Linked DNA regions of Homo sapiens: regions 2, 3, 4, 5, 6 and 7 are each linked to region 1. The links are contacts of gene promoters, found by promoter capture Hi-C in blood cells and fetal thymus (Javierre and others, 2016). All regions are on one chromosome and are shown on one strand. Each heading gives the region's core, a stretch centred on a gene start or on the middle of the fragment in contact. The rest is flanking DNA. Distances are from core to core; before and after follow the strand shown.

The links. The method cuts DNA at HindIII sites, captures the fragments that hold promoters and counts their contacts. A CHiCAGO score of 5 or more calls a contact.
Region 2: a contact is called between a fragment that was not itself captured here and the fragment with the promoter of TMEM130 in region 1, in 4 of 17 cell types (naive B cells, total B cells, total CD8 T cells and 1 more). The highest score is 8.4, in naive B cells.
Region 3: a contact is called between a fragment that was not itself captured here and the fragment with the promoter of TMEM130 in region 1, in 4 of 17 cell types (naive B cells, naive CD8 T cells, total CD8 T cells and 1 more). The highest score is 7.7, in naive B cells.
Region 4: a fragment that was not itself captured here is called in contact with the fragment with the promoter of TMEM130 in region 1 in 2 of 17 cell types (total CD4 T cells and naive CD8 T cells); the score reaches 7.0 in total CD4 T cells.
Region 5: a fragment that was not itself captured here is called in contact with the fragment with the promoter of TMEM130 in region 1 in 7 of 17 cell types (naive B cells, total B cells, total CD8 T cells and 4 more); the score reaches 8.5 in naive B cells.
Region 6: a fragment that was not itself captured here is called in contact with the fragment with the promoter of TMEM130 in region 1 in 1 of 17 cell types (total B cells); the score reaches 5.1 in total B cells.
Region 7: a fragment that was not itself captured here is called in contact with the fragment with the promoter of TMEM130 in region 1 in 7 of 17 cell types (naive B cells, total B cells, endothelial precursors and 4 more); the score reaches 9.5 in naive B cells.

What each region holds. Positions count from the first base shown.
Region 1 is chr7:98,868,436-98,871,411 of GRCh38, reverse strand. It overlaps TMEM130 (transmembrane protein 130), which reads left to right and starts at 1,398. Exons shown (of 8, transcript NM_152913.3): 1 at 1,398-1,635. The coding sequence starts at 1,551. RefSeq lists enhancers at 1,328-1,913, 1,914-2,500. The HindIII fragment of the contact is 4,583 bases long and covers 1-2,976 here.
Region 2 is chr7:98,018,608-98,021,583 of GRCh38, reverse strand. No RefSeq gene overlaps it. Among named protein-coding and RNA genes, the nearest start is that of OCM2, 30 kb to the right of the region's middle. The HindIII fragment of the contact is 3,693 bases long and covers 1-2,976 here.
Region 3 is chr7:98,095,754-98,098,729 of GRCh38, reverse strand. No RefSeq gene overlaps it. Among named protein-coding and RNA genes, the nearest start is that of LMTK2, 9.6 kb to the left of the region's middle. The HindIII fragment of the contact is 464 bases long and covers 1,164-1,627 here.
Region 4 is chr7:98,114,548-98,117,523 of GRCh38, reverse strand. All of the region lies in intron 1 of LMTK2 (lemur tyrosine kinase 2), which reads right to left. Among named protein-coding and RNA genes, the nearest start is that of LMTK2, 9.2 kb to the right of the region's middle. The HindIII fragment of the contact is 7,004 bases long and covers 1-2,976 here.
Region 5 is chr7:98,131,611-98,134,586 of GRCh38, reverse strand. The region is part of intron 1 of LMTK2 (lemur tyrosine kinase 2); the gene reads right to left. Among named protein-coding and RNA genes, the nearest start is that of LMTK2, 26 kb to the right of the region's middle. RefSeq lists enhancers at 1,087-1,136, 1,696-2,196. The HindIII fragment of the contact is 4,152 bases long and covers 1-2,976 here.
Region 6 is chr7:98,150,816-98,153,791 of GRCh38, reverse strand. It overlaps LMTK2 (lemur tyrosine kinase 2), which reads right to left. Exons shown (of 14, transcript NM_014916.4): 4 at 2,337-2,410. Among named protein-coding and RNA genes, the nearest start is that of LMTK2, 45 kb to the right of the region's middle. The HindIII fragment of the contact is 4,832 bases long and covers 1-2,976 here.
Region 7 is chr7:98,173,272-98,176,247 of GRCh38, reverse strand. All of the region lies in intron 7 of LMTK2 (lemur tyrosine kinase 2), which reads right to left. Among named protein-coding and RNA genes, the nearest start is that of BHLHA15, 37 kb to the left of the region's middle. The HindIII fragment of the contact is 2,612 bases long and covers 262-2,873 here.

The DNA of each region.
Region 1 (2,976 bases), core at 149-2,648:
CCCTGCTCACCTCCTGCTGTGCAGCCAGTTCCTAACAGGCTATGGACTGGTACTGGCGGCCAGGGGCTTGGAGACCCCTGCTTTAGACGCCTTGATGTCAATGCACTGGGTGGTGCAGTGATGGTCCATCCGTGCTCCACGGGCCAGAGAGGAGGTCAAAGGCCCTCACTGTGTGGGAGGATCCCTCGCCCAGGTAGCCGTAGCAAAGCGGAAGCATAGCTGGGACCAGAACCCACCGGGCTTCCAGCGTTTAAGGCCAGCCAGGCCCCTCCAGCTTCTAGGAGAGCCCAGCCCTGCTCCTCTAAGGCAAATGGCAGTAACTGTGTAGGCTGGTCACCCCTCACCGCAGTAGCCTGACTCCCACAAGGCCCTCAGTGACAAAGAAGTTGCCCTGGGCCCAGATACGAGCAGGAGCCCCATCTTAACAGCAGCTGTGAGAGGGTAAACCGGGGGATGACATCAAGCCCACGGCAGGGGCCGGGTGCTCAGGCCCCTCTATCAAGAAGGGGCAAGAGGCTGGGCACAGTGGCTTACACCTGTAATCCCAACATTTTGGGAGGCTGAGGCGAGAGGATCACTTGAGGCCAGGAGTTTGAGACCAACCTGGCCAACATGGTGAAACCCCGTCTCTACTAAAAATACAAAAATTAGCCAGGCCTGGTGGCGGGCACCTGTAATCCCATCTTACTAGGGAGGCTGAGGCAGGAGAATCGCTTGAACCCGGGAGGCGGAGGTTGCAGTGAGCCGAGATCGCGCCATTCTGGGACAGAGCGAGACTCTGTCTCAAGATTAAAAAAAAAAAAAAAAGAAAAGAGGAAGCAGCAGCAGCAGCAGCAGCAAGAGGAATTTCGAGGCCTTTCGCCCAACGCCTGGCGCACCTTAAGCTCTCAACAGTTCTTGAATGAGGAGTAGCATCTCGGAGCCACGAGCGTGCAGAGAGAAGGCACCTGGAGGAGAGCCCCAAGGGACCTGCAGGCGGCTTGCAGCGCAGCGCACGCCCCTGGGGACGCTGAGTCAGAGCCGGCGGCATCGGATCCAGGGCGGGGAGGGGCTCGGGGGAAGGGAAAAATGCGGGTGCGGGGGGCGTGGTTTCGGGTAGTGGAGGGGAAGGATGCGGCCGGGGGTGGATTTGGGGTGGGGAGGGATGCGGGGAGGAGCCAGGGCGCAGGAAGGGAGCTCTGGAACCCCTAGAGGGGAAGCAAGCTGGGAGGGGCGATCGTGGACTCCAGGAGGGCAGGGGGCGCGGCCGTGGGAAGAGACCCGGAGAGGGAGGACGCGGCCGTGGAGAGGGACGCGGGAGCAAGGGGCGGCGGGAGGAGGAGGAGGGCGCGCGGCGCGGCTGACGTGGGCCGGGGTCGCGCAGCGGGCTGTGGGCGGCGGCGGCGGCGCGCAGCGACAGAGCGTCCCCCGGCGAGGACGAGCGAGCACGGCGCCCGCACCTCCCCGCACCGCCCGCGCTGCGCGCCCGGAGGAGCGACCGCCGCAGTTCTCGAGCTCCAGCTGCATTCCCTCCGCGTCCGCCCCACGCTTCTCCCGCTCCGGGCCCCGCAATGGCCCAGGCAGTGTGGTCGCGCCTCGGCCGCATCCTCTGGCTTGCCTGCCTCCTGCCCTGGGCCCCGGCAGGGGTGGCCGCAGGTAAGGCGCTGGGCAATCCGGCCTCCCTGCAGCCGCAGCCCGCCCGGGGCCTGGAACCGTCTCAGCGGGCGAGTGGGCCCGGGAGCAGGGATTGCGGAGGTGGCACCGTGCGCCCTGCGCGCATCTCCCTCCTCGGCTGAGGCCACTGCAGCGCCCTTTCCCCTCTCCTTTCATCCTTGTTCCCCAAAGTCGCCTGGGCACTGGAGGGGGCTCCCCGCACCCCCTGGATTCCTGCTTCCACCCCCCCAGGCTGGCCCTGCCCTGGAAACCGCGCGGGGGTGGCCGGCGCATCCGTCGATGCCTGGGGACCATGCACCCGCTAAGGGAGGGGAGGACGAGGCAGGGAGGCGGGGATGCGCCAGGGTCCGTCATCGCGCCACAATTCCCCAGTCCCCCAGGGAGCACGGGATGGGCAACGTTTTTGCCTTAAAATGTCGCCTCATCTAGAGGGGTTTCCCACCGTGTTGGTGCTGGCTTTGGGGAGATGCGAATTTAGAGCCCAGGAGGCCAGGCTGCCATTTCCTCTCTGGTGGTGATTTCCAAAATGGACCCGGAGCTGACAGGTTCCTGGGGTGTGTGTGTGGGTGGGGGAGTGGGGGAAGCAGGGTTGTGTGTCTACTGCCCCCACTTCCCCACCGCCAGAAAGCCAGCACCCACCTCTCTGCCACATTTTGGGAACCATAAAAGGACCCAGATTTAAGACTATTCGAGGGACAGATGGGACGTGGGCAGCTAAGAAGGTTGAATACTATCCACCACTTTTCACCCCCTCCCCCCTCATAAAAGAGCGGTGGAGAGAGAGAGCAAGGGATCTAATGAAAATTTGTGAAAGAAAAACCATGAGGTCAAAGAAAACCTGCAACTCAGGGATGAATTAGACGAATTTTATGGGAATTGCACTTGGACAAGATTACCTATTTCCTCCTGGAAATACAGGAAAGGGGTCTCTTGTCCATCAGGTTGATTTGTGTCAGAGATTTTCAATGTGTCCTAAATTGCAAAAGAAAAAGAAAATAATAACAAAAGTGAATTAATTATTTGGAAATCATGTGTGGTTCCCATTCTAGCCAATTGCACCCTTGATGTGGTCAAAATCACAGTGGCTAAGAGTGGAGTTGGGAAACATCTTCTCCCTCACCCGTCGGGGAGACTTTTCTACCCTTCCCCTTTCTGGAGTCCATGAATCAGGGATTTGTAAGTCAGAAGTCCATGTACTGGACTATTAATTAATTCTGGGTTGTGTTATCCAGACTTTAGAGGTACTCTTTGGAAGTGTTTTGGGTAGTCTGCATATTCTGTGTGAAAGGACTGGTGTAGCCATTTTCTAGAATGTTCAGGGCT
Region 2 (2,976 bases), core at 229-2,728, 850 kb after region 1:
TTTCTCTTTTAAATTTTTTATTTAAAAGATTATTTTAAAAAATTTTAACGGGCAATTTTCCTTGGGTCTTGAAGTCATCATTTCTTTTTCTTTTTTTTTTCTGAGAGTCTCATTCTTTTGCCCAGGATAGAAAGCAGGGGCACAATCACAGCTCACTGCAGCCTCGACCTCCCACCTCCCAGGCTCAAGCAATCCTCCCACCTCAGCCTCCCGAGTAGATTGGACTACAGGTGCACACCACCACGCCCACCCAATTTATATATATTTTTTGTAGTGAGGAGATCTCACTGTGTTGCCCTGGCTGGTCTTGAACTCCTGTGCTCAAGTGATCCTCCCACCTCGGCCTCCCAAAGTGCTGGGATTACAGATGTGAGCCACCACGCCCAGCCTGCGTGGGTGTTTCTACAAAATCTTAAGTATCTCTCACAGCAACCCTGTGATTGCCACTATTATCACTATCCCTTTTCACAGCTGAGGAGACCCAGGTTCTGAGAACTGAGGACCGTGATATATCCTATGCAGTGCTATACTGGGATTTGAGAAACCCAGGCCCACCCAACCCACTTCAAAAACAAAGGTAGGCCAGGCGCAGTGGCTCACGCCTGTAATCCCAGCACTTGGGGAGGCCGAACCAGGTGGATCACTTGAGGTGAGGAGTTCGAGACCAGCCTGGCCAATATGGTGAAACCCTGTCTCTACTAAAAATAGAAAAATGAGCCAAGCATGGTGGTGGGCGCCTGTAGCCCCAGCTACTCGGGAGGCTGAGGCATAAGAATTGTTTGAACCTGGGAGACGGAGGTTGCAGTGAGCTGAGATCGCGCCATTGCATTCCAGCCTGGGTGACAGAGCAAGACTCTGTCTCAAAAAAAAAAAAAAATGTAGATCCAGCAATTCCACTTCTGGGTAGATGCTCCAAAGAATTGAAAGCAGGGACTCCAGCTGATATTTGTGGGATTTTTTAACCTCTTTTTTTTTTTTTTTTGAGATGGGGTCTGACTCTGTCCCCCAGGCTGGAGTGCAGTGGCAAGATCATAGGTCACTGCGGCCTCAACCTCCAGGCTAAAGCAATCCTCTTGCCTCAGCCGCTCAAGTAGCTGGGACTACAGGCATTCCCCACCATGCCCAGCTAACTTTTTTATTTTTTGTAGAGATGGGGTCTTGCTATGTTGGCCAGGCTGGTCTCAAACTCCTGGCTTCCAGCAATCCTCCCACCTCAGCCTCCCAAAGTGCTGGGATGACAGGCCTGAGCCACTGCACCCGTCCTCAACAGATATTTGTACACCCATGTTCATTGCAGCATTATTCACAATAGCCAAGAGGTAGAAGCAACCCAGGAGTCCACCTACCAATGAATGAACAAAATGTGTCTGTCCATACAATGAAATATTATGTAGCCCTGAAAAGGAAATAAATGCTGACACCTGCTACTGCATGGAGGAACCTTGAGGACATTATGCTCAGTGAAATCAGACAGTCACAGCTGGGCGCTGTGGCTCACACCTGTAATCCCAGCACTTTGGGAGGCTGAGGTAGGAGGATCACTTGAGCCCAAGAGTTCAAGACCAGCCTGAGCAATAAAGTGAGACCTCATCTCTACAAAAAAATTTTAAAAGCCAAGTGTGGTGGTGTATTCCTGTAGTCCCAGCTTCTAGAGAGGCAGAGGTGGGAGGACTGCTTGAGCCAGGGAGGCAGAGGTTGCAGTGAGCAGAGATCATGCCACTGCACTCCAGCCTGTGGGACAAAGCCAAACCCTGTCTCAAAAAAAAAAAAAAAAAGAAGAAGAAGAAGAAAGAAGGGAAGGAAGGGAGGGAGCGGAGGAGAGGAAATAAGTCAGTCACAAAGAGGCAAATATGGCCGGGTACAGTGGCTCACACCTGTAATCCCAGCACTTTGGGAGGCGGAGGAAAGTGGATCACTTGAGGTCAGAAGTTTGAGACCAGCCTGGCCAACATGGTGAAATCCTGTCTCTAATAAAATACAAAAAATTAGCTTGGCATGGCGGCGCACGCCTGTAATCTCAGCTACTTGGGAGGCTGAAGCACAAGAATCACTTGAACCCAGGAGGCAGAGGTTGCAGTGACCCAAGATTGTGCCACTGCACTCCAGCCTGGATGACAGAGTGAGACTCGTCTCAAAAAAAAACAACAAAAAGGCCGGGCGAGGTGGCTCATGCACTTTGGGAGGCTGAGGTGGGTGGATCACCTGAGGTCAGGAGTTCAAGACCAGCCTGGCTAACATGGCAAAACCCCGTTTCTACTAAAAATACAAAAAAATTAGCCGGGCGTGGTGGTGCGCGCCTGTAATCCCAGCTACTCAGGAGGCTGAGGCAGGAGAATCGCTTGAACCTAGGAGGCAGAGGTTGCAGTGAGCCGAGATTGCACCACTGCACTCTAGCTTGGGCAACAAGAGCAAAACTCCAAAAAAAAAAAAATGGCAAATACAGCATGATTCCACTTATATAATGTACCTAGAATAGTCAAACTGATAGAGACAGAAAAAAAGTAAAATGTTGGTTATCAGAGCCTGGGGATAAGGGGGATGGAGAGTGAGGGTTAATGGGGACAGTTTCAGTTTGGGAAGATGGAAAAGTTCTGGAGATGGATGGTGGTGACAGTTGCATAATATTTTGTTTATTTCTCTCTCTGTCTCTCTTTTTTTTGAGACAGAGTCTCGCTCTGTTGCCCAAACTGGAGTATGGTGGCGCAACCTCGGCTCACCACAACCTCCGCCTCCCAGGTTCAAGCAATTCTCCTGCCTCTGCCCCCTGAGTAGCTGGGATTATAGGTGCACACCACCACACCCAGCTAATTTTTGTATTTTTAGTAGAAACGGGGTTTTGTCACGTTGGCCAGGCTAGTCTTGAATTCCTGACCTCCTGCCTGCCTCAGCCTCCTAAAGTGCTGGTGTTACAGGCGTGAGCCACCATGCCCAGCCCGGTTGCACAATATTTTTGATGTAATAAATGCCACTGAATTG
Region 3 (2,976 bases), core at 146-2,645, 770 kb after region 1:
ATGAAGTATTGATATGTGGTACACCATGGGTAAACTTTAAATATATAATGCTTAGTGAACAAAGCCAGTTAGAAAAGACCAAATATTGTATGATTCAATTTTTATGAAATGTCTAGCATAGGCAAATCCATACAGACAGAAAGTAAGTTAGTGTTTGCCAGGGGCTGAAGAGGGAAGGGAATAGATTAGTAATTGCCTGGGGCTGACAGGGTGGGGAAGAAATGAGGAATGACTGCTAATGGGTATGGAATTTCTTTGGGGGATGATGAAAATGTTCTAAAATTTTATCTGTAAATATGTTTAAAGCTATTGAATTATACTTCAAAAAAGGGAGTTCATTACCTGTGCACACAATTACTTAAAAAAAGAGAATATTGACAAAGAGACAGCAGTTACTTTAAAAAGAACCCAATAAAAATTCTGGAGTTGAGAAGTACAATAACTGACATTTAAAATTCACTAGAAGGACTCAATAGCAGATTTGAGCTGACAGAAAAAAGCATCAATGAACTTGAAAATAGGTAAATTGAGATCATCCAGTCTGAGGAGTAGAAGGAAAACCAAATGAATAAAAATGAACAAAGTATAGTGTGGGGGTGGGGGGAGTAGTTTTACCAAAGTGTGGAGAAACCTGACAAGGTCTGCATCAACACTGTTAAGCCATGTTGATACTATGTATTTTTGATATGATGTGATGAGCTGTGGTCTTCATCCTCAATGTATAACATTAGTCCAATCAGACAAATCCGAATTAAGGGACATTCTACAAAATACCTGACCAGTAGTCTTCAAAAATGTCAAGGTCATTTGTTGCAAGTATTTGGTTATTTAAAAAACATTTTTTTTAATGTCAGGGTCATGAAAAACAAAGAAAGTCTGAGAAATTGTCATGGCCAAGAGGAGTCTAAGGAGATATGATAACTAAATATAATGTGGTATCCAAAATAAGATCTTGGAACAGAAAAATGACATTAGGTGAAAACTAAGGAAATCTGAGTAAGATATGGGCTTTAGTTGGAATAATATATCAATAGCAATTCATTAATGATAACAAATATACCACATTAATGTAAAGTAATAACAGGAAAAATTGGGTGTGGGATATATAGGAATTCTCTGTACTAGCTTTACACCTTTCTATAAATCTGAAACTATCGAAAGCTTATTTTAAAAGAAAAAAATAACAAAGCCTCAAAGCTCTGTGGGATGCCATTGAGCATACCAAAATACATAAAGTGGGGGATTCCCAGAAGGAGAGGATAGAGAGAAAGGGAAAAAATATGTACATTTGAAGAAATAATGGCTGAAAATCTCCCAGATGTCATGATAAGTGTTAGGCTACACATCCAAGAAGCTGAAATAACTCCAAGTAGGATAAACTTAAAGAAATCCACATCTGGGCACATCATAACCAACTGTTCAAAGACAAAGACAAAGAGAGAATCTAGAAAGCAACATGAAAAAGAACCTCATTATATATAGAAGTTCCACAATGAGATTAACAGCTGACTTTTCATCAGAAACCATGGAGGCCAGAAGGTTGTGGGACAACAAATTCAAAGTGCTGACATGTTAAAGAGCTGAAAGACAAAGACTGTCAAACAAGAATTATATGTCCAGTAAAGCTTCAAAAATAAAATAAATATCAAGACATTTCCAAATACACAAAAACAGAGTGAAATTGTTGCTAACAATGTTTACTACAAGAGATACTAAAGGGAGTCCTTTAAACAGAAATAAAGTCACTATTCAGAAACTTGAATTCACATAAAGAAATAAAAAACACCAGGAGAAGGAAACTATATCACTAAATATAAGAATATAAATATAAATGTATTTTTCTTTATAACTTTCTTTTCTCCTATCTGATTTAAAAGACTACTACATAAAGCAACAATTATAAAACTGGCAGAGGGACTTATATAAAGATATAATTTGTATGACAATAATAGCACAAAACATGGATGTGGGAAGAGAGCTATACTGGAGCAACGTTTTAAACACTATTGAAATTAAGCTGCTATTAATCGTATCTAGCTTGTTTTAGGGTATTATGTTAATTGTAATTTCTAGGGCAACCACTAAGAAAACTCGAAATATATATTTAAAAACAAGTAACAAGTGAATTAAAATTGTACACTAGAAAATATCTACTTTAGACAAAAGTGGGCAGTAATGGAGGAATAGAGGAATAAAAAGCACATAAGACATATAGAAAATACATAGCAAAATGACAGACATAATCCTATTTTGCTGATGAGCAGCACAGTAACTCACACCTGTACTCCCAGGGATCTGGGAGGCCAAGGCAGGAGGATCACTTAAGCCCAGAGTTTGAGACAACCCTGGGCAACATAGTGAGGCTCCATCTCTACAAAAATTGTTTAAATTAGCTGGGTGTGGTAGCATGCAAATGTAATCCTAGCTTCTCAGGAGACTGAGGTGAAAGGATTGTTTGAGTCCAGGAGTTTGAGGCTGCAATGAGCTATAATTGCACCACTGCACTCCAGCCTGAGTGACAGAGTGAAACCCTTACTTTAAAAAAATTAGTAAATTATCATCATCATCTTCATCGTATCTTATTGATAATTACATTAGATGGAAATGGACTTATCACTCTAATCAAAAGGTAGAGATTGGCAGAATGAATAGGAAAACATCATTCAACTATATGCTGTCTACTAGAGACACATTTTAGATTCAAAGCAAAATAAATTTAAAGTGAGATAAAAGAAAACCAGGAAAAAAGCATCTAAAAGAGAGGTTGAGTGGCTATACTAATATCAGACAATAGAATGTGAAACAACAAGAAAAAGAAGGATATTTTATAATGATGGTCAATCTATCAAGAAGATATTACAATTATGTAGAAGCATGCGCCTAACTACACGGCTTCAAAATACATGAAGCAAAAACTGACATAATTGAAGAAAGAAATAGACGATTCAAAAAATAATACTTTGGACTTCACTACCC
Region 4 (2,976 bases), core at 286-2,785, 750 kb after region 1:
AGCGGGGCACCCAGGAGCTAACTGAAAGAGCTCTCGATGGCCAAAGCTGGTACAATGTAAGAACAAATAAACAACACTGTGGAATCAACTCGAAGTATAAAATAAATATCCATGCATCCACACTGACATAAGTAAATGCTTGAATAAAGAAATAAACAGAGGATCGCATGGGCCCGGGAGTTCAAGGCTGCAGTGAGTCATGACTGTGCTACTGCACTCCAGTTTGGACTACAGAGCAAGACCTGTCAAGGAAAGGGAAGGGGAAGAGGAAGAAAAAAAGAAAAGAAGAGAATACGCGAGTCTCTTCAACAGAACTCCAAAGAATGTCTACAGACACTTCCTTGCAAAGAGGTGGAGCACAGCTTGCCACTCATTAAGTGTTGACCCTGCACTCGTACACCATGGGGAGGGGAGGACAGAGTAACTTTACAGGGTGAAAGCTGACAAACACTACTCAGCCAGGTGATCAAGTGACAAGTCATGCTGTGTGATGTTGTGTGCACACACCCTTGATGTGATGTGATGAGAATGGCACTTTAACTCTGTGGTCTTCCTCCCAGAAACCCACACCCCCAGTCTAATCGTGAGAAAAACATCAGACAAATCCCAGTTGAGGGACATTCTACAAAATATCTGACCAGTCAGTACTCCTCAAAGCTGTCCAGGTCACTCTAAACAAGGAATGGACTGGGGGAGCCCAAGGGGCATAACTACTAAATGTAATGTGGTTTCCTGGAAGAGAAAAAAAGACACTAGAGAAATATTAAAGAAACTGAACAAGCTGTGGACTTATTTAATAGCAATATATTAATACTTGTTCCTTAGTTGTGACAAATGTACTACATTAATATAGGATGTTAACAACAGGGACTGGGTAAAAGATACACAGGAACACTCTGTACTATCTTTGCAATGTTTCTGTAAATCTAAAATTGTTGTGAAAGAAAAAGGTTTTAATAAAAAAAAAACTATAAATGGCCTCATCCCAGGTGAAGGTCTGTGGCTGCATGGGAAGTCAAGTCCGCAAGAGAATGAGAGGCTTCAGCTCATACCCTCTCCTTCACACACACACACGCGGACACAAACACACACACACACGCACAAACACACGCACATGCACACACACACACACAGACACACACTGAGGTACTGGTTTGGAGAACTTAGTTCTCTAGTATCATCTTCATCATCCTCAGTTACAAATGCTGACAGAGCATCTACAACCTGTGACATACCATCCAAACACCAATCCCAAAAATGTGCTATCCCAAGGATATAAGACACGGTCCTTGCAAACTAGGTAAAGAGACAGGACTTAAACAATGATGTAGGCCGGACACTGTGGCTCACACCTATAATCCCAACACCGTGGGAGGCCGAAGCCAGAGGACTGCTTGAGGCCAGGAGTTTGAGACCAGCCTGGGCAACATGGCAACTTTACTTTTGTAGACCATCTCTACAAAAAGTAAAAATTGGCCAAGCATGGTTACATGCGCCTATAGTCCCAGCTACTCAGGAGCTGACATGGGAGGACTGCTTGAGCCTAGGAGTTCAGGGATGCAGTAAACCATGACAGTTCACTGCACTCCAGCCTGGGCAACAGAGCAAGACTTTGTCTCTTAAACAAACAAACAAAAAACCAATGATATGAAGATATAAAGTGGTATTTGGTATTTATTAAGTGCAAGTAGTAGACTGGTATGATGAAACCAAACCTTTCTTTTTTTGCTTTTTTTGAGATGGAGTCTTGCTCTGTCACTAGGCCTGGGCACAGTGGTGCGATCTCAGCTCACTGCAACCTCCGCCTCCCGGGTTCAACCTCAGCCTCCTGAGTAGCTGGGACTATAAGTGCCCGCCACCACACTCAGCTGACTTTTTAGTAGAGACGGGGTTTCACCATGTTGGCCAGGATGGTCTCAATCTCTTGACCTCGTGACCCGCCCGCCTCGGCCTCCCAAAGTGCTGAGATTACAGGTGTGAGCCACAGCACCCGGCCCAAAACCAAACCTTTCTTGATTTCAGCCAGCAGTAATTTCTCTCTCCTCTCTCCCGCCCTCCCTTCCTTCTTTTCTTTTTTTCTTCTCTTTCTTTCTTCTTTCTTTTTCTCTTTCTTTGAGTCTCGCTCTGTCGCCCAGGCTGGTGTGCAATGGCATGATCTCGGCTCACTGCAACCTCTGCCTCCTGGGTTCAAGCGACTCTCCTGCCTCAGCCTCCTGAGTAGCTGAGACTTTAGGAGTGTGCCACCATACCCAGCTAATTTTTGTGTTTTTTAGTATAGACGGGGTTTCTCCGTGTTGTCCAGGCTGGTCTTGAACTCCTGACCTCACGTGATCCACCCACCTCGACCTCCCACCGTGCTGGGATTACAGGCATGAGCCACTGTACCCAGGCAGTACATTTTATGTTCTTTCCGTCCCATGTCATTTATAAATCAAAAAATGTGTTAGTGTACCACACATTCTATACCTTAAAACATCACATAAGTTGACCTTTTAAGAGGATGAAATGAGAATAAACATCAGTTCCAATGTTTTCGTCTGGCACCCCATGAAACATCTTGCTCCACAGGTATACACTCTCAAGTTCACCAAGGGAAGGAATCTCTAAGGGCTGGGCCAGGATCAATAACTCAGTAGGGAAGGTGGGTCCGCAAAGAGGTTTTAAAAAAAATAAAAAGATGGCAGCACTTACAGAAGCAGGAAAAGAGGCAATTGCAAACAGGGAGAATATATGGAGAGCCAGAAGATGGGAATTTGCATGGAATATTTTGCAAGCGATAGGCAGATCAAGTTAGCTCTGAAAAAAGTGCTGTGGAGGGTGGAGGCAGGAACAACAACAGATGCGCTGCAGCAGACACCCCGATGCGACCGTCTCCCTTCACCAGATGCAGGGAGACAGGGGCTACTTTAGCCATAGCACAAGGTCCTGCACACCTAATTTGACCTGATGGTAACTCAAGCCTTTTAAAATATTAAA
Region 5 (2,976 bases), core at 277-2,776, 740 kb after region 1:
CACTTCAGCCTCCCAAAGCGCTGGGATTACAGGCATGAGCCACTGCGCCAGACTGCTGGAATTATTTCTGAAGAACTGTGCTTCACTCCCGATGCACATAATAAAAATTAAATTTGACTCCTGAGGAAAGCAAAGCGCTTTCACGTACACTGTTTTTTATTGATTGTTTTTAAAGACGCATTTGGATTGTAAGGGAGAATAAAAAGAAAAAATAACACACAGTTTGTCCACTGCATCTCTGAATTTCAGGTGCATCTCACACTTCAAGTTAGCTTAACTGGCAGCATTTCTTCTTTTTAATGGTACAAAACTAAGGGTGTGACTTATCATCAACCTCATCTGACATTTGATAAAATACAGCATTATTTCATTTGGCTGTCACAATACCTCTGAGGTAATACGACCAGCTCCACGTCACAGATGAAGAAACTGATATGCCCATGAACCCAGGTGGGACAGTGGCAGGCCAGACTGAGTTTAGGTGTGCTGGGTGCAAGCTCCCTCGCTTTCCTTGAAACCCCACTGCTCTGCCTCTATGTGGTTAACCTTTAACACTTAAAAACAGCCCACTGTCCTTTGAACCCAAGTCTGTCATTAATTAGGGTAGTTTATACTTCCTCAAACTCCACATAGCTGATCTTGACTTACTTTTTCCTCTCTTGCACCCAGAGTTTTTGTTTTGTTTTTTTAAGCATCACAAACTACTTATTTATTACAGAACTGGATAAGGACTGTATGAATGCCAGCCTAATTATCTGATTCATGAAAGTGTCCTCTGTGAGTCACTAGATAGGTATGAAGAGTATAACCAGGTTAAGACCAATGAACTATGCCACGCTTTGCCCTAGCTCTCTGCTACACTTACTTCTGCTAGGGTCTGCAGGGCACCTACTCTCCCTTAGATTTCCTCAGTGTGAACCACACTTACTCAACCTCAGTATCTAACAGTCCCATTAAAACTACTGCCTCAGAAATTGACTAGGTAGCTTCAAGTAGACATTTTTAGTTACCCCTTTTTAAAACTTTAAAGTATTTTTCTTTTGATGAATCCAAAAGCACTGTGCTATAAAAAAAAACTCTATTTAGCAATGAAAAAAAAAAACTTCCATAAAATGAGGAAATCAAACATAGGCTGGAAGGTGAGATGGGTTTGCAGAAACCACAGAGAGGAAGTAAATTCTAGACTTGAGGAACCACAAATAAAATCCCTATACCGCCGTGGTCAAACTAGAAACCAGTCCCTGACACAGTTCCTGACTGCAGCTGTTAGAACCTGATAAAGAAAGGCAGCTTTAACATGCAGCCTACAGCACTGAGAAGGGCATACGTCGAGCCAGTCATCTACCAAACAACATCAAGAACAGGCATCACCATACATTTAGGCAGCTTTTCCCATCACAAATTGAGAGCAAGCACCACATGAGGTCTGGCGGAATACGTATGCTTTCCCCAAGACACTGATTAAAAAACACCCGGCATGTCTACAGCACATTCTGTGAGTTTTCATTTAATAGTTTTCAAAGCATTTTAATAGCTACCTAGAACTTGATTCAATAAGCAGAAAACTTGAGAAACTCTAAGAGGTAGGTACATATTATCTGTTTTAGAGACAGGTAATTTGGAGAATGCAATTTCTCAGTAATGACTCAAGGTAAGCCAGGAATACCACCTATTAATTCAACCATTATAACTCCAGCCCAATTATCTGATTCACGATCTCTAGAACCTCAGATGAAACTGGACCCATATGTAATTAACTAAAGAGTTGTCTGTGAAGCCATTTTGGGATTCAATTAAAAAAAAAATTAAAGGCCACAGATAAAAAGAAATGATGATCAATATTTAGATCCATTAGGGATTACAAAATGCTGGATATCCTAATGTTGTCATTCCTTGTTCAGTCACTAGTGGATATGCTTTTATAAAGAGAAATTTCCTCACATTTACTATTTGGTTACCCAGTGGTTCAAGTCATAAGGAAAAGGCAGACTAGATACTTCAATCTTTCTCTTTGCCAGTTTTTAAAAAATGAGTTGGTGGTTGGGTGCGGTGGCTCACGCCTGTAATCTCAGCACTTTGGGAGGCCAAGGTCGGGGGACCGCAAGGTCAGGAGATTGAGACCATCCTGACCAACATGGTGAAATCCCGTCTCTACTAAAATACAAAAAATTAGCCAGGCGTGGTGCCGCGCGCCTGTGGTCCCAGCTACTCGGGAGGCTGAGGCAGGGGAATTGCTTGAACCCAGGAGGCAGAGGTTGCAGTGAGCCAAAATTGCGCCACTGCACTCCAGCCTGGGCGACAGAGTGAGACTCCGTCTCAAAAAAAAAAAAGTTGGTTCACTAGCATCCTCTGGCAGTGACCAGTTCAGAGAGCTGCTGTCACTGTTTTGTGGTATCATCATGAGCTAATGGATTTAAAGCACCCACAGGCTTCCATCCGTTGTGGTTGTTCTGATTGACACTCCCATTGTCCTGTCTTTGGCAAGCAGGGCCTCTAAAGCGGTTTGCTCCCAAGCCCTCCCACAGGGTCCCGGCAGGCCTGGGTGGAGTTCTTGTTCCCTGGGTTGTTCCAGGCTCATCTTTTATAGTTTCTGTTTCAAACCTCCTATCAATCATTTCCCCAAAGAGCCCTGGTTTCTTTTAAAGTGAACTGCTAATGTAAAGACCTCGGTTCAGGAAGTAGAGCTGCTTATTCACTGCTGGTGTCACAACTACCTTAGAAAACAATGTATCACAGTTTTGTAACATTGAACTTTGGTACCCCTGTGGTCTAAGCAGCTGCTCTCTTCGGGTAATAGGGATCAGGAAACTGTGGCCACTGGGTGAAATCCTGCCCACAGTTTTTGTTTTGGTATGGCCTGAAAGCTAAGAATAATTAAGAATTCACGTTTTTAAATCGTATTTTTAATCCAAAATAACATTTTATGACACATGAAATTTATATCAATAGCTGATAACACAGAAAGACAGACATTAT
Region 6 (2,976 bases), core at 348-2,847, 720 kb after region 1:
TGGGCCCAGGTGATCCTCCTGCCTCAGCCTTCCGTGTAGCTGGGACCACAGGCGTGTGCCATCCCACTCAGCGAATTTTTTTTTAGAGATGGGGTTGTGCTATGTTGCCCAGGCTGGTCTCAAACTCCTCGCCTCAAGTGATCCTTCCCACCTGGGCCTCCCAAAGCACTGGAATTACAGGCGTGAGCTACCGCGTCCAGCCTATTGCTCCTTGAGGAGTAAAACTCTTCAAGAGGGTTGTCTAAATGCACCGTCTCCTCTTTCTCTCTTGAATCCATTCCACGCAAGGATGTACCATCACCATTTCCCCCTGAACAACTTCTTTCAAGGACGCCAAGGAACTTATGCTGCTGAATCCTCATTCTCCCAGGCTTCATCTTACTCCATTTGTAAGCTGCAGCATTACTGCAATTAATCTTCTTGGAACTTTCAGAAGACTCCTGTCTCCTGGGCTTCTCCCTCCTCACTGCTTCTCCCTGACTGCACTGGCCTCTCCCTGCTGCAGAGCCTCCCCCTGGTTTCCACTTTGAAATTCTCCATGACTTCACCTAGTCTCCTAGCTTTGAATACACTCTATAAAACGAGATCACTCGGATTTACATGTCCAGCCGGGACCCTCTCTCCTTCACTCTTGCTCTGCATTTCCAGTTCAGCTACTTGGTGCCCCCACTGAGTTGTCTAACGGCCAACTCACACCTGACATAGCAAAGATGAACTCCCGACTTCCTCCTGCCTCTCCTGCAGTGTCTGTTGCATTTCAGTTGACAGCAACTCCATTCTTCCAGTTCATCAGGCCCTCAGCAGTCAATCTGACTGCCTCTTCCTCCACAGTCCATGTCTTATCCCCTCTAAGTCTACACCCGCATGCTCTCGTCTGAACATCTGTCTTGGGTCCTACCACTTCTTGCCACCTCCACCGCTAGCATCCAGGTTCAAGCTGCCTGGGCCTGCAGGAGCCTTCTAGCCCATCTCCTCCCTGCTTTCACCTTCCCCCTCTATGACTTCCAGAGTGATCCTTTTAAAAAGGTAACTCAATTACATCATGATCTCTCAAGCACCAGAGTATTTCCCCGTTTCATTCCGAGCAAGGCAGTCTCTAGGCACACAATATCCCAGATCACCTGCCTGCCCTCTACCTCTCTGAGCCCACCTCCCACAATTGACTGTTTGCTGTGTGACCCTCCCAACTAGATATCTAAGCCTTGTGAAGACAGGGTTTTGTTTGATCTCTCATACAGGACTCCACACAGGTCAAGGTTTGACCCATCTTCCTCCACATCGTGCCCCTAGCACCAAGAACAATGGCTGCTACGTAACAGGTTTTGCTGAATGGTGCAGAAGAGAACTCAAACAGTTGGGAGGACATGAAAGATACAGACAACGCTGAAGGGAAGGAGAAGCAGCAGCAGATGGCTGACTACTGGGAAGTGCATCCTCCTGTTGTAAGCATCCTGCTTACGATGTAATCCCTACTCCATTAGGAACCTCTTGCAGAGCACGACTGCAGTACTGTGGAAATGGCTGTAGGAGATTACTCCTTCTGAGCCATCTACGATAAAAAAATCAACAAAGCATTGTTACTACAGGCCACTTGACGGGCTATGAGAGAAGACTAGTTGTTCATGGTGGTCTTCATTGTAAGACTGTATTTACAGTTCTAAAGTGGCTTAAGTGCTATAAGGGGAAGGGATTAAAAAAACAATCTAACCTGAGAAGGATACAAAGCTGAAGCTGCTAAGATTCCAGGTCTCTTTTCCCTTCTTACTTTCTTATGTCAACAATTAGAAAAGTCTCAGATACTTTTTTTTTAAAGGCCTTTGTTATGATCGAAATGTCTGTGTCCTTTGTCCTGCCCAAATCCGTAAACTGAAACCTAATGACCAATGCGATGGAGAGGAGGAAGGCCTCTGGGAGGGAAAGGGATTTGCATCCCTCCAAAAGAGGTTCCAGAGAGCTGCCCTGCTCCTTCAACCACGGGAGGACGCAGCAGGAAAGTGCCACCTTCACCTGATCCGGATTCAGCCAGCACCTTGATCTTGGACTTCCCAGCCTCCAGGATTGTGAGAAATAAATTTCTGTTGTTTATAAGCCACCCAGTTTATGATATTTTGTTATAACAGCCTGTATGCCGTAAGACATCCTTTCTGGAAAAGGCTCGACACACAGCAAGGCTGAAGCTCACGCCCCCACGCTGCCACAGGGGGAATGGGGAAACTCAATTAGTAACGCAGGGCCCACAGGGCACGTGGAACTCCACACAACACAATTCTTCATCAGCCCTGCACTGAACACAGTATCATTCAGAGGAAAACAAATGCAAGTGAAGAGCATCTTACCTTTCCAAACCAGCCATTTCCAATTTCCTGTATGTAGTTTAGACTGTGGCGGGCAACTTGAGACTTCAATCCCTCTGTAGAGAAAAAAACATTAAAAATGAAATATAAGTATCTAAATATTAAATATATAACCTATAAAGTATGAACACTAACATAAAGGCTTGTGCAAATAAAGGTAGGAATAAATACATAAAACACCTCTTTTAAACGAATCATGCCAAAACAGTTTTAGGCTTTAAAACTGACAATATTTTTTAATGAGTTTCCTACCAATTCTTTAATACCTTGCGCATTGTTTTTTTTCCGATCCAGCTACTCTCATGTAACCACCAATCACCAGGCCAATGGCCTTTACTTAGTCTTCATTTTCATCTCTCTTGAACAGCTCACCTAGACATATGATTAGCACTCTTAAACTACTCTCCTTAATTTTTAAAAAGTTTTACTGAAGTATAATCAATATACAATAAAGTCCACATATTTAAAATATACACTTTGATACACTTTAATATTTGTAAGCACCTGTGAAACCATTACCTAAATAAAATACGGAACATCTCCATTACCCCCAAGTCTTCTGATACCCTCAGTAATCCCTTCCACCTGCCCCCATCTCTACACAACCATTCACGTGCTGTCT
Region 7 (2,976 bases), core at 318-2,817, 700 kb after region 1:
TGTAAACACAGAATAGCTGCTGAATTATACTAAATGATGTTTCTGCAATCTATTGCTATAATGTATTTCTCCTCTTTTATTCTGTCAATGGAATGAATTATGTAGACATATTTTTATAATACACATCTACCCTTATAGTCCTAGAATAAGTCTTAATTGTTTTATTCACACACTGCTACATGCAGTTTGCTAGTATTTGTGTCTATGTTCATTCAGGAGAATCGTCAATAATTTCTTTATGTCATCTTTTGCTATTAAGCTTGTGTTGGATTCATGATATGAGTTATAGAAATTTCCGTCTTCTTTATGGTCCGGAATAGTTTAAATACACTGGAGCCACCTGTTCATTAAAGGTCAGACAGAGGACACCCATGAAACCCTCTGGACCTCGAGCCTTTTAAAATGAAAGCTCTTTAATCACCTTCCCAGTGTAGCTACTCGGCTGATTACAGTCTTTCCATCTCTTCTTGGGTTGTAGCTGCAGTCAAACTGGTTCCTTTCCCTTGAAGCCTTCCTCATTTCTGTGTGACATACATCATGGGAGATACAAAGGTCAGGAAGATACAATCCCTGCCTTCAGCAAGTCTTCCATGTAGAAAGGGAAATAAGGAAACTTCATGGACACCCACCATATATGAATTCCGGTTTGGTTTTCGTTTAGGTAGTGCCTTCTCTTTCTAAACCAGCCTAAGCTGAGGTGCAATAGTGATTAAACATGCACGCACGTGCACACACAAAGCTCTGGGCATGCCATCCTACTGCCTACAGAACACAGCCTGAAGGCCTTATCTTGGCACTCAGGCCCTCTGTAATTTGGTTTCAAGCTGTGTCTCTATTCTTATCTCCCACTATCTTCTCTCCTGCGTCTTCTTTTCTGGTAACACTGGACTATCTGACATTTCCCTAAACTCCCTTTCTTTCTCTTCCTCCTACCATATACATCATCTTGCTACTCCCTTCTCCAGAAATTCTGAATGTCCTCCAGCCTTCAACTGATGCCCATTCTTCAAGGATCACTAAAACGCCACCTCCTTCCAAAAACCGACCTGGACTCTTCCCAAAGTAACTCTTCCTCCTCCTGCAGAAATGACCACACACGGTATGTGCACGTGGGTACAAACTGCTCATCAAATGATCAAATGAGTGGCTGAGACAGACCAACCGCTCAGCACCCCAAGCCTCAGTATTCTCCTCTGTAACTGGGATGAATAATGGCACCTGCCTCGTGGCACGTGGGGTGGCCCTGACGATCAAATCACTACTCACAGAACGTTCTGCAAATGCATGGAACACGGCAAACACCCTGCCAAATGAGAACATGCGTTTCCACTCTCCTGCTGGGGCGGTAGTGAGCAACAGGTGTGCACTTTGCTTTGATTTTAAATGTATTTCTCTGTCTCTCACCTTGTCACTGGATTTTAAATGCATTTCTCTACCTCTCACCTTGTCATTGAACTCTGCAGGCTGTGGAAGTTCGCTACACACTAACCCCAGTGTTGCACAGCAGAAAGTAACTGTAATGCTACAACCTGGCAAATCCTATAGAGGTTCTTTTGTACACAATGGTCACCCAGGTACTCCGCAAGGCTACCCCCTCCAGGTCTCCAGCTCCATGAGTCACTGCGAGGAGGCAGGCCGCCCATGAGAACCCCCTGGCTCAGCTCATCACAGCGACCTGGTGGCATCTCACGGACAGGCTGCTCAGGAGACTGGCAGGCAGGGGACAGGAAGTCCTGGGCTCCAGGCCAGCAAGGCAAGTGGGATGGCACAGCAGCAAGCTGGCAGCGCCTGCTGTTTACATGGCTTTCCAAAAGTCACATGCACGACTTCAGAGACACAGGCTCCTCAGACTCCAGGTTAAGGCTCTTCTTAAACAATAGGTAGAAATACAACTTCACTGTGGGTGCCTTACTAGATTAGTTTCCAAATGGAGCTAAGAACTTTAATTGGACATGTAGGTTGTTCTATTTTCAACCAACAGAGGAAGTCCTACTTTAAGTCAACCAATAAATATTCTAAATTCCAACTTAAAAATATACTATATGATATGCTACTGACAAAAAAGATCTTAAAACACAAAACTTTGCCCCAAACAGAAATTTAATATAGATATGATTACTTTTTCTTTTTTTTTTTTTTTTTTACAACAAAATGAAACAGCTGTCAATGGTTTCAAGGGTTTTTTGTTTTTTGAGACAGAATCTCGCTCTGTCACCCAGACTAGAGTGCAGTGGCATGATCTCGGCTCACTGCAAGCTCCACCTCCCGGGTTCACGCCATTCTCCTGCCTCAGCCTCCCGAATAGCTGGGACTACAGGCACCCGTCACCACATCCGGCTAATTTTTTGTATTTTTAGTAGAGACGGGGTTTCACCGTGTTAGCCAGGACAGTCTCGATCTCCTGACCTTGTGATCCGCCTGCCTCGGCCTCCCAAAGTGCGGGGATTACAGGCATGAGCCACCGTGCCCGGCCTCAAGGATTTTCTTTAACTTGAGTTTTAGAACTTGAATAAAACCCAAACTATGTGATTTACTCATCATCTTTACTTGCTCTAAAGTCCACAAACTTTGAAATTAAGTAAAACTTTAACTTGAAACTCACAGGAAAATACTATTTACTCTGATATCTTTGCCAATTTAAAAAATACAGATTCTAGTTGTCTTTGATAATTTTACATTGCTGATTCCAATATTATGCTCTTTTAAAATTAAACCCCCTTCTCCAAAATTTAAGAATTCCTATACCAGTATTAGTAATTATCTGCATTTTGTAAGATATATTAACAATATAAATTATGCTAGATAACAGCCTGTTATAAAAGACATCAAAAGCTAAATGTAGGCTTTCTCCATTACGAAATCTTTATAAAGCTTCATATAAGGGATTCTGCTTTGGGTCTTAAGAAACTGGTAACTTTTTGAGTCTTTAAAAAAAAAAAAACACTTTACCAGAATGATTTGTTTACTATCGTAAAT